Regions from separate parts of the Homo sapiens genome. Here region 2 is linked to region 1. The links are contacts of gene promoters, found by promoter capture Hi-C in blood cells and fetal thymus (Javierre and others, 2016). All regions are on one chromosome and are shown on one strand. The core of a region is centred on a gene start or on the middle of the fragment in contact, and the rest is flanking DNA. Distances in the headings are between cores, read along the strand shown.

What was found. The method cuts DNA at HindIII sites, captures the fragments that hold promoters and counts their contacts. A CHiCAGO score of 5 or more calls a contact.
Region 2: a contact is called between the fragment with the promoter of PTTG2 here and the fragment with the promoter of FAM114A1 in region 1, in 2 of 17 cell types (activated CD4 T cells and total B cells). The highest score is 5.6, in activated CD4 T cells.

The regions. Positions count from the first base shown.
Region 1 is chr4:38,865,228-38,870,850 of GRCh38, forward strand. FAM114A1 (family with sequence similarity 114 member A1) reads left to right here and starts at 2,579. Exons shown (of 15, transcript NM_138389.4): 1 at 2,579-2,607; 2 at 3,171-3,319. It overlaps MIR574 (microRNA 574), which reads left to right and starts at 2,805; the gene lies at 2,805-2,900. It also overlaps a transcript of TLR6 not described here. RefSeq lists silencers at 2,343-2,822, 2,873-2,922 and an enhancer at 3,130-3,713. The HindIII fragment of the contact is 2,847 bases long and covers 1,549-4,395 here.
Region 2 is chr4:37,959,093-37,964,137 of GRCh38, forward strand. PTTG2 (pituitary tumor-transforming 2) reads left to right here and starts at 1,306. Exons shown (of 1, transcript NM_006607.3): 1 at 1,306-2,036. The coding sequence starts at 1,343. The coding sequence ends at 1,918. The region is part of intron 2 of TBC1D1 (TBC1 domain family member 1); the gene reads left to right. The HindIII fragment of the contact is 1,467 bases long and covers 134-1,600 here.

The DNA.
Region 1 (5,623 bases), core at 1,329-3,828:
TTGTCATATTATTCTTTACTTTTCTATATATTTTAAATACTCCAGAAAATTTTTAAATGAACTTAAAATGTTTTACATTGCAAATAAATAAAATATCTGAAATAAAATCTGGTAGTCCTGGAAGCAGCTACATGAGTAAAAGGGACAAATTTGCAGTGGGCAAAACAAAAAACAAACTTGTTGCCAGGATAGTTTGCTTTATTTTCTTTATTGGATAGGTGTGGTTTGGGTCAAAGGAGAAGAGGAACTCAGCCCTTTAAAAAGAGAACATCTGATTGGGCTGTTACGGCACAGCAGGGAAGGGAAGGCAGGTTAGCAAAGGTGCTTGCTGTCTCTGGGCAGGAGCAGAAGTCCCAGGCACAGACGTCTGTGTATATGCTACACCAAAACACACCTGTTGCAACTGGAACATAATTTGATAACACTCGCAAAGCCAGAACTGGAAGGGACTGTGCCGAGCAATGCTCTTTATTTTAGAGGTGGAAAAACTGAGTTACAGAAGCCACGTGTTAGTTAAGGTTCAAAGTCTCGCTCAATTCAAAAAGGCTATTGATCTCAATTTAAAGCAGTTTCCACCCACTCTCACATTAAGATAACTTTCTGGTTTTTCTATGAATTTAAAAATGACAGGCTGGGTGTGGTGGCTCACGCCTGTAATCCCAACACTTTGGGAGGCCGAGGTGGGCAGATCACTTGAGGTCAGGAGTTCGAGACCAGCCTTGCCACCATGGCAAAACCCTGTCTCTACTGAAAACACAAAAATTAGCCGGGTGTGGTGGCACGCACCTGTAATCCCAGCTACTCAAGAGGCTGAGGCAGAAGAATCGCTTGAACCCAGGAGATGGAGATGGTGCCACTGCACTGCAGCCTAGGCCACAGATCAAGACTCTGTCCTCCTAAAAAATAAAATAAAATAAATATTCAGTAGCTTAAAAAATTATTAATATAAAAATATTTAATAAAAATATTAAATAAGAAATATAGCCAGGCACGGTGGCTCATGCCTGTAATCCCAGCACTTTGGGAGGCCGAGGTGGGTGGATCACCTGAGGTCAGGAGTTCGAGACCAGCCTGGCCAACATGGTGAAACCCCGTCTCTACTAAAAAATACAAAAATTAGCCGGGTGTGGTGGCACGCACCTGTAATCCCAGCTACTCAAGAGGCTGAGGCAGGAGAATTGCTTGAACCCAGTAAGCAGAGGCTGCAGTGAGCTGAGATCACGCCACTGCTTTCCAGCCTGGACGACAGAGCAAGACTCCATCTCAAAAAAATGAATTAATAAATTAATTAATATATATATGGAAGAAACTGGAATATAAGGAGCAAACTAATTGTCAATAGGAGAATGATTGAATGAAATATAATTACAAACATATTGCAATATATAAGACAAGTCTTAGAAGAGTGGTTTTGGTTGATATGTATTGACCAAGAAAGATGATTATAATATATAATAAATAGGGGGAAATTTACAAAATACGTCAACATCTCGCCATTTTTATAAAAAAGCAAACAAAAAGCTGTTTATGCATACATGTATTTATATAAGCTTAGAAAAACTATGGTAGGATCCACACACTATAAAAAATGGTAGTGATATTGAAAGGGAGAGACTAGGGCTATTTTTTCTTTAACTTTGAATTTATAATTCTTCAAAAAGAAGAAGGGATGGAGTGAGAGAGGAGAAAATCTGCCTTAAACACATCGCTCAGAAAGAATCACTATTTTTAAATTGTATTTCCTCCGACTTTTATAGAAAATACAAAATTGTTTACAAAACTAGTTAATACTATAAACACTGCGCTTCCTCCGCATCTGAGTTCATATTAAGCCATATTTGAGGAAGGCCTTCATATGTGGCCTTCCCTCCATGTCAACGAATCCTCATTTTTAAGGGCTACAACATATTCGATGTCTGAAGTTACTGTAGCTTACTTCACCAATCTTACTGGGGGACATTGAGATTGTCTCCGGCTTCCCCCCGCAGAAACAACTACAACAAACATCCTTGTACATACATATTTGCCCATTTGACTGCCTACTTAGGACAAATTCACAAATGTGGAATTCCTAGGCCAAAGCTAATACATCGGAGTTTTAACCCACAGCTCCAAACTGGCCTTCTGGAAAGTGGGTTTTCGTTGTTTGTTTGGGGTTTGTTTGTTTTAAATCTATCACACTCCCACCGACAGGGCAAGGGAGTGCTGCTTAACGCAGAATCAGGAGATCAAACTTTAGCTGAATTTGAGCGACCTCTTCCCAGTGACACGGCGGGGGGTTTTCCAAGCCCTTTTAAGGAAAGGAAAGGGATCTGGCGAACCCCGAGACCCACCCGCCCTGGGCTGGAGAGGCGGCGCGCTCTGGCTTTCCGCGCTGGCACAGGGGTGGGACAAGCCAAGTTTCCAGGAGACTCGCCCAGCGCGGGCCCGGCCCTCGCAGCGTGGGGGTGGCCGGGCGTCCCCGCGGCGCTCCTCGTGGGGCGGGGCGCAGGCGGGGCGGGGCCCCCTCTCCAGCCGCCCGCCCTCCGGCCGCGTCCCCGCCGGCCCTGCAGACGTGGCGGGGCGGGACCCGCTGGGCACTCCCGCGCGTACTCGGCCGCCTGAGCGGTAAGAGCCCCGGGCACTCGGTCCCCATCCCCTTCCCCGGGGGGCGGGCGAGCGCGGGGGCGGCTGCCCGGGGGTGGTGGGAACACCATACCTTGGCGCCTCGTCCGGGACCCACGAATCCTGCCCTCTGCGTTAGTGAGAAGCAGTGGTCAGGGAGGACCCGGCTCTGGGGTGAGGGTCTGGGGCGGCGCGGCCGAGGGACCTGCGTGGGTGCGGGCGTGTGAGTGTGTGTGTGTGAGTGTGTGTCGCTCCGGGTCCACGCTCATGCACACACCCACACGCCCACACTCAGGGTCTGCCCCCTCGGCCTGCGTGAACCTCCGCGGAGCCTGCCTGGATCTCCCAAAGTATCCAGTCCTGGCACCAAGCAAGTCTGGAAAAGTGCCCCCAATGGCTCGGGGCCAAGTCAGAGGTGGGCTGCAGGGTCCCCCAGCCCGGGCACGAAGGGAGCAGGTCCCTGTAAGACAGAGGCCTCGTCCCAGGGTGCGCCTGCCCTCGGCCTTGGCACAGGGAGCTCAGGCCTTGACCTCCCCGCTCCCCTCGCCTTACTCCTCCCCCAACAGCCGACCCACGCCCTGCCTGCTCTTCCAGTCCAGCCAACACTCTAAGCAGGCACCGCCTCCACTCGCAGCCCCCGGGATGGGTCCCACTCCCTACCGCAGATCCCCAGGCCCCCTCCACCCAGTCGGCTAGCCCTCGCCTCTGCCATCCGGTGAGTATTTCCAGGCACCTCAGACCAGGCGCCTGAACGTCACTGCCTTTTCTTAAGTAGGAAGACATCTCTCTATGGGCTGTGAGAGCATTACCTATGCCCTACTGATCCCATCATTTCCCATCCTAAACATCTTGAAGGACACAGGCAGGTGGCTTCTTAAATCAGTGTGCTCTGAACTCCCTGTGACCTCAGCCAACCTGTGACAACTGAGAATGAGACAGGCTCTATCCTCAGAGCCTCTTTTTGCCCTCTCTGCAGCCTAGTGGCTCCTTCCCTACCCCACCCATAGGCCTGCGTCCCCGCCCTCCTTTCTTCCATCAAGCCTGAGCTTGGGAAAGAATCTGATAAACTTCTTACATTGTAACCTTTAAGTGAAGGAATGAGACGTTAGGGATGGATTTGAGGCACAAGTGAGACAGTGCAGAAGGAATTTGAGGGTTGGAGGGGGCTTTCTTGAATCTGAGCGATTCAGACCATAAAAGTAAACTTGTCTTTGTTTATTTGACCAGGCTTACATCAAACATGGTTTCTCTTTTATTAATATCAAACACAATGTATTTCAATTCAGTAAATATCTGAGGGACAGAAACCAACCTAGGTGCTGTTGGTCACAGTCTTGGAGGACAGAATGGCAGAAGTAAATACTCCATAAATACATGGAATAGAAATCTGTGCAAAGTGCCAAAAACATAGAAGAGGTAGCAGTTATTTCATTGGAAGCAGTGGGGCAGATTAAGGAAAAATTCAGAATGAAAGGTAACATTAGACACTGGGTGTCTAGAGGAATAGGAGTTTGCCAGGCAGCTGGAGGAAGGGCAGCACCGGGGCAGAGGAACCAGCGTAAGCAAAGGCAGGGAGATGTGAAGAGTTATGGGGAATGGAGAAAAGACTGGTGAGGCAGGAGTGGAGGATACTGAGAGTTGCAAGAGGTGGAGAGAGATTGGAGCTGGATTATGATGGGAAGTGTGAAGATATTTACACCTAATGGTTTTTGAACAGGAGAGCAAATAGGTCCAAAAATGCCTGGCAGCCTCACAGAGAATAGGCTGGAGCCTGGGTACGTAGACTTGTCAAGCTTTATACAAACTCATACAAACTGCTACAACCTGATTAAGAGCCTCTCATCCAGAGTTTTTATTCCTGGTCCTTCGCTGACTGGCACTGTTTTTGTTTTTTTTTTTTAACTGGGGGAGATGACCTCACACAGGATATCATGCTAACCAAATTTTTATGCTGCCAAGTCAGGCCATTTTTTTTAAAAAAATCCATCCACTGTCACTATTTCATAAAATGAAAGACATTTTAATACCAAGAAAAAGCACAAAGGCTAAACTTGAAAGATGAAGGCAGTCCTTTACATTTAATAAATTTAGATTTATGAAAAACTTGCAATCTTGTCCTCATTTTTCTCTATCATCACAGACTTGCCCCAGTCCTGCAGGTGGAGTTTGGAAAAAAAAGCATCCAGATCAGTTTGTCCATCCTAGCTTTACAGAGGAGCAGGTGTAAGCACAGTGAGGATCAAGTTGTGTGCCCACAAAGGGATACTGGGACCAGAGGCCACATCCCTTGACGCCTGCAGGACACAACTCTTTCCACCTCAGAATACCATCGCTCCCACCTCTCATCATTCCTCCATGCAGCCTCATGTCCTGGCCTCTCAGACACCTGTCCTGAATCACTACAGTCCATCGCTGATGCTTGGACATTTGCACATGCTCTCATCCCACCAGGCCTGAATCACCACATCAAAGACACTTTCAAGATTCTCCCTTGCACAGGGTCAGTCTAGTTCAGGCACATCTGTCCTTGATTTGCTGTGCTGTTTTGCATCACTTTTTAACTGTTTTGTGTTAGCTCCTCAAACAGATGATTGATTTCTGAAGGATAGTGACCATGTCTTCTGTTTTATACTTATTTTTGGAGCTGTGATGTTGCTGCTTAAATACCTTGCATAGTTCTGGGAGCATTTTAGGTGATGAATGAATTTACTCACGAAAAACTAACTTATTCCCAGCCCACAAAGGCTTCTTTATATGCCACCCTTCCTCTCCTTAGAGTTTCCTGAAGCAGCCTCCTTGTTTCTGTGGGTTGAGTCTCCCTAGCCTCCAGTCCACGAGACATGGCTACAGTGATCAGTGTTCCTAACCATAAATCAGGAAAGGTTTCTAAGTCTGGCTTATGGAACACCCAGACGGAGATGGAAACCGTCCCAGGAAACACAGTGCTTGTCATGACTGTAATCCTGGTGGACTCCAGCAGCCCCTGCTCAGAAACAGTTCTGTATTTCAAACACACAGT
Region 2 (5,045 bases), core at 56-2,555, 910 kb before region 1:
TTGAATGGCCCTTTGTATTTGAGGTGGCCTTATGCAAATAAACAGGCACAGTTGACCCTTGAACAATGTGAGGGTTAGGGGCGCCAATCACCTGCATAGTCGAAAATCCACCTATAACCTTTGACTCCCAAAAAGCTTAACCGATAGTCTTCCGTTGACCTCACCAATAACACAGTCGACTAACATATATTTCGTATGTTTTATGCACTATATCCTGTATTCTCACAATAAAGTAAGCTGAAGAAAATGTTATTAAGAAAAATCATAAGGAAGAGAACATATTGCATTATTCATTAAGTAGAAATAGATCATCATACAGGTCTTCACCCTCATTGTCTTCACGTTGAATAGGCTGAGGAGGAGGAGGAAGAGGAGGGGTTGGTCTTGCAGTCTCAGAGGTGGCAGCCGCAGAAGAAAATCTGAGAACAAGTGGATCCATGCGACTCAATCCTGTATTGTTCAAGACTCAACTGTATATTTTTGCATATGGGCTCAAATACGTACGCACATATGTCACTGGGTCAAAGATTCATAGAATGAATTAGACAACAAGAATATTTATCATTGAATTGAAATGGCTCACTGCAAAAGTGCCCTCAACTTATCTCTAGGCCTTAGAAACAGAAGTGACCCTTTGCTGCTGTGAATCAATAGCCTGGACTAGATTGGGGTTGGGTTGGCAAAGGTATATAGTCATTGCCATAGTCCAGTATTCCTGCCCAAGCAAGCACCATTAGTAGTCACGTTGCTCAGAGAGGGCCTCTCGGCTCTCCCCACCACTGCATGCTGGATTGTCTGCCACCAGTAGATCAGAGTTGGCAAAAGGGATAACTCGGGATGAAACATTTGAGCATTTTGCAGTTTAGAGAAACTTCAGGGGTGCTGCTTTAGTAAAAAATGGAAGACTTGCATTTATTAAAGGTTAGTAAGAAGTGAAATAATGTATGCAAAAGTACATTATAAATTAGAAAATGCAATAACGGCAGAAACTATTTATTTATTGGTTGCTCTGCCCTTTACCTAAGTGGTTTTTGACCATTTAACAATGTGTAAGAGTTGGGTTTTACCTCCATTTTATGGATGTGGAAATAGGGCTTGGATGTTAGCTAACTTGCCCAAATCTTACAGCTAACAGAAAGTGGTACTCCCGAGATTCCTACCCAGGTTTGTCTGACCTCAGGCCTGTGCTCTTTATATGAGTTCATGCTAACTCTCAGATGATGTGCTAGGCACAAAAATTAGATATTACACCAATTTCCACTATAGTTAACATTCTATCTAAATATAAAGTGGGACCACGGTCTTAGATGAATGTGGCTGTTGAGAGCGGCAATAATCCAGAATGGCTACTCTGATCTACGTTGATAAGGAAATTGGAGAACCAGGCACCCGTGTGGCTGCCAAGGATGTGCTGAAGCTGGAGTCTAGACCTTCAATCAAAGCATTAGATGGGATATCTCAAGTTTTAACACGACGTTTTGGCAAAACATACGATGCTCCATCAGCCTTACCTAAAGCTACCAGAAAGGCTTTGGGCACTGTCAACAGAGCTACAGAAAAGTCAGTAAAGACCAATGGACCCAGAAAACAAAAACAGCCAAGCTTTTCTGCCAAAAAGATGACCGAGAAGACTGTTAAAACAAAAAGTTCTGTTCCTGCCTCAGATGACGCCTATCCAGAAATAGAAAAATTCTTTCCCTTCAATCTTCTAGACTTTGAGAGTTTTGACCTGCCTGAAGAGCGCCAGATTGCACACCTCCCCTTGAGTGGAGTGCCTCTCATGATCCTTGATGAGGAGGGAGAGCTTGAAAAGCTGTTTCAGCTGGGCCCCCCTTCACCTGTGAAAATGCCCTCTCCACCATGGGAATGCAATCTGTTTGCAGTCTCCTTCAAGCATTCTGTCGACCCTGGATGTTGAATTGCCAGCTGTTTGCTATGACATAGATATTTAAATTTCTTAGTGCTTTGGAGTTTGTGTGTACTTGTATTAATAAAGCATTATTTGTTTAACAACATAATAAATACATAAATATAAAGTGGGTCATATTCCTCTTTATGTGCATCTGTCTCAGCTGTCCCTTGTTTCTATATTTCTTCCATACTACAGCCCGTACTCTTTGGGGATATGTCAACATGATTTACTTCTGTAGAGAAACAGGAGACAGGAAATAGCAAAGGATAAAGGAGAAAAGGCCAGGGCCAGGCCAAGAACTTCTACATCTTTTCTTCCCAGCCTAGTGTGAACCAGATGAAAGCCTTAAGGAGGTCCTAGCAGCAAAGGGAGATAATTAAAAGAATGAGAATTTTGTGGAATGCTAAAAAAAAATAGGGAACATATTTGCAGCTAGGACTAACACTGATTATCTTAAAATGTCTATATGGCTAAATAATGTTCATGAAATCCCGTATCTTATTCTGCTAATGTCTTACAACTTAAAGCACTTTTATGTCCATGCCTTGAATTCTGTACAAAGCTTTGATAGAGTCACAGATGTCTGGTGTCAATCCAGATCACCTGAGAGGCTTCAGGGTTTCCTCTCTGGTTCCTGAATTCCAAGACTTAGTGAGTTTCCTAGGCCAGGAGCTGCTATTCATTATACATGTTAGTGGTTTTGCTCTTTCTACTGAAAGTGAGTGGTGGTTATGTCTCTGAACATGTTATTCCACAAAAAGCCAACTAGATGTGGCTATTTAAGAACCATCAAAGGCCATGACAGGCCAAAGTTTCCAAATCCCTCTTCAATCAAAGGATGCTGTCAGAACTGACCTCCAAAAAAGATGCAAGGTCTCAGTCCTAGGCTGTCATACTGGTCCTTAGAGAAGAGTTACAATTTTGTGATCTGCTCCACTCCATTTTGATTTTTGCTTCCATGCTATTTTAAAACTGGAGAAGGTTTAAGTTTAAAAATTCAAGACAAATCATAAAATATTTGAGAATTTACTTGTACATTGCCTGTCTTCCCAAATAAACTGTGGGCCCCATGAGGGCAGGGACCATCTCTGTTTTGTTCACTATGGTGTCCAAGTACTTCCCCCATATCTTGGAGCTGATTCTGTGGTGGGCTGCTCCAAGTAATCTTTATCTTGGGCCAGTAGCCACGCAGGTCAAGGATAAGTTTCCATTAGGTGTGGGCATAAGCTCCTACCCAGCCATTGTCCTCTTCACCAGAAGAACTAAATTTCATCTGTAAAGGAAGACATCACATTCTGTAAATGGTAGGGCCTCATTCTCCTGTAAGATTCATATTTCTGCATTTTGGATTCAAGAACCATAGGTGTATCCCATGGCAAGACAGGAAGTATTACTGGAGTCAGACTCCCTGGGTCTTAACCCTGCTTCCTCTGTTTAATGGATATGCAACCTTGGGCAAGCCGGTAACATCTAAAATTTTACTCTTATAGCTGTTGATAGAGACACTAAACGTTTAAATTTCTAAATGTTTACTGCCATATTTATGTATGGTTATTAGCATAGTAAGGATCTAAATGATATCAGAGTAGAAACTCAATAAATATTTGTTAGATGGATGAATAATTAACCTCTCAGACTTCAGTTTCATCACCTGTAAATAAAGAGGTTTAGCTATATGGTATCTTTGCAGTTCTAATATCCTGTGGACTTAGTTATGTTAGTAGTTATGATATTTTTTATTCTTGGTAATTTTTTCAGGATTACTATAAGGATAATAAGAAGTCAAATTCTAAACTGAAATAAGTCAAGGGAATTGAATAAAAACTTGGATAAAAAAAGAAAGTGTTTTAAAAATCACCCTAAGTCCAATGATCAGCTGGCCTTTGATTTAAAGTGTGTCTGTGGTCAGCCCACGGAAATAGTATACAGCTTCTCTGAAGCTCTTTAACATCTTCATTACAGTCAGTTTAAGTACTTCTTTGGCAATAAACATCAACTTTTTTTCAGATGTCTCTTTGCATATGATGGCCTTGGCATGAGACATGAAACCATTAAGAAAATACAAGCCAGGTCCTCTGCTACAGTCCATAAAAATCATTTAGTTGAAGCTATGCATATTTACTTATTAGCTTACACTCATTTTTAAACTGACTCACAAAAAGTACAGTATTAGGCCATTCTTGCATCGCTATAAAGAAATACCTGAGACTGGGTAATTTATAAAGAAAAGAGGTTTAATTGGCTCACAGTTCTGCAGGCTGTACAGGAGGCATGGCAGTGGCATCTGCTCAGCTTCTGGGGAGGCCTCACAAAGCTTCCAGTCATGGCGGAAGGCCAAGGAGGGAGCAGGCCTCTCACATGGCAGAGCAAGAGCAAGAAAGAGTTGAGGTGGGGGGTGAGGGAGGGGGGAGGTCCAGGTGGGCGGACCACTGGAGGCCAGGAGTTCGAAACCAGCCTGGCCAACATGGTAAAACCCCATCTCTACTAAAAATACAAAAATTAGCCGGGCATGGTGGCACATGCCTGTAACCCCAGCTACTCACTGAGGAGGCTGAGGCACAAGAATCGCTTCAGCCCAGGAGGTGAAGGTTGCGGTGAGCCGAGATCACGCCACTGCACTCCAGCTTGGGTGACACAGTGAGATTCCGTGTCAAAAAAATACCCATTTATGTACTTACGTACAAAATATCTGAAACTGCTAAGACTGGGTAGTAATTACATGGGTGTCTCTTATATTATGCTATTTAAATGTTTTAAAAACATTTAATAATTTTTAAGATCCTAAGAAACAAGAATACTGTAATAAAAAAATCCAATATCGGACTCTACTCCCTTGTAGATTAGGAATGATATCCCTGCTCTTTTTCCCCCCAATGGCTCATTTGTACTTGGCATTTGGTGCCTGCTTAAAACACCAGGGTGACTACAGGGTCCCTGATGTTGGTTAGGGGCCCTCTCTGTAGCTTTCATAGCACCCTCTCTTTTCCTTCTCACTGCATTTATCACCCAGTTGTGCCATTTCCTGTTTCCTTGCTGTATGGGCCTGCTGGACCATAAGACGTTCCTGCAGGGGCAGGTGGCTTGCTTACTATAGCATCCCTGAGGACTGGAATGCAATAGATATTGAGTGGCT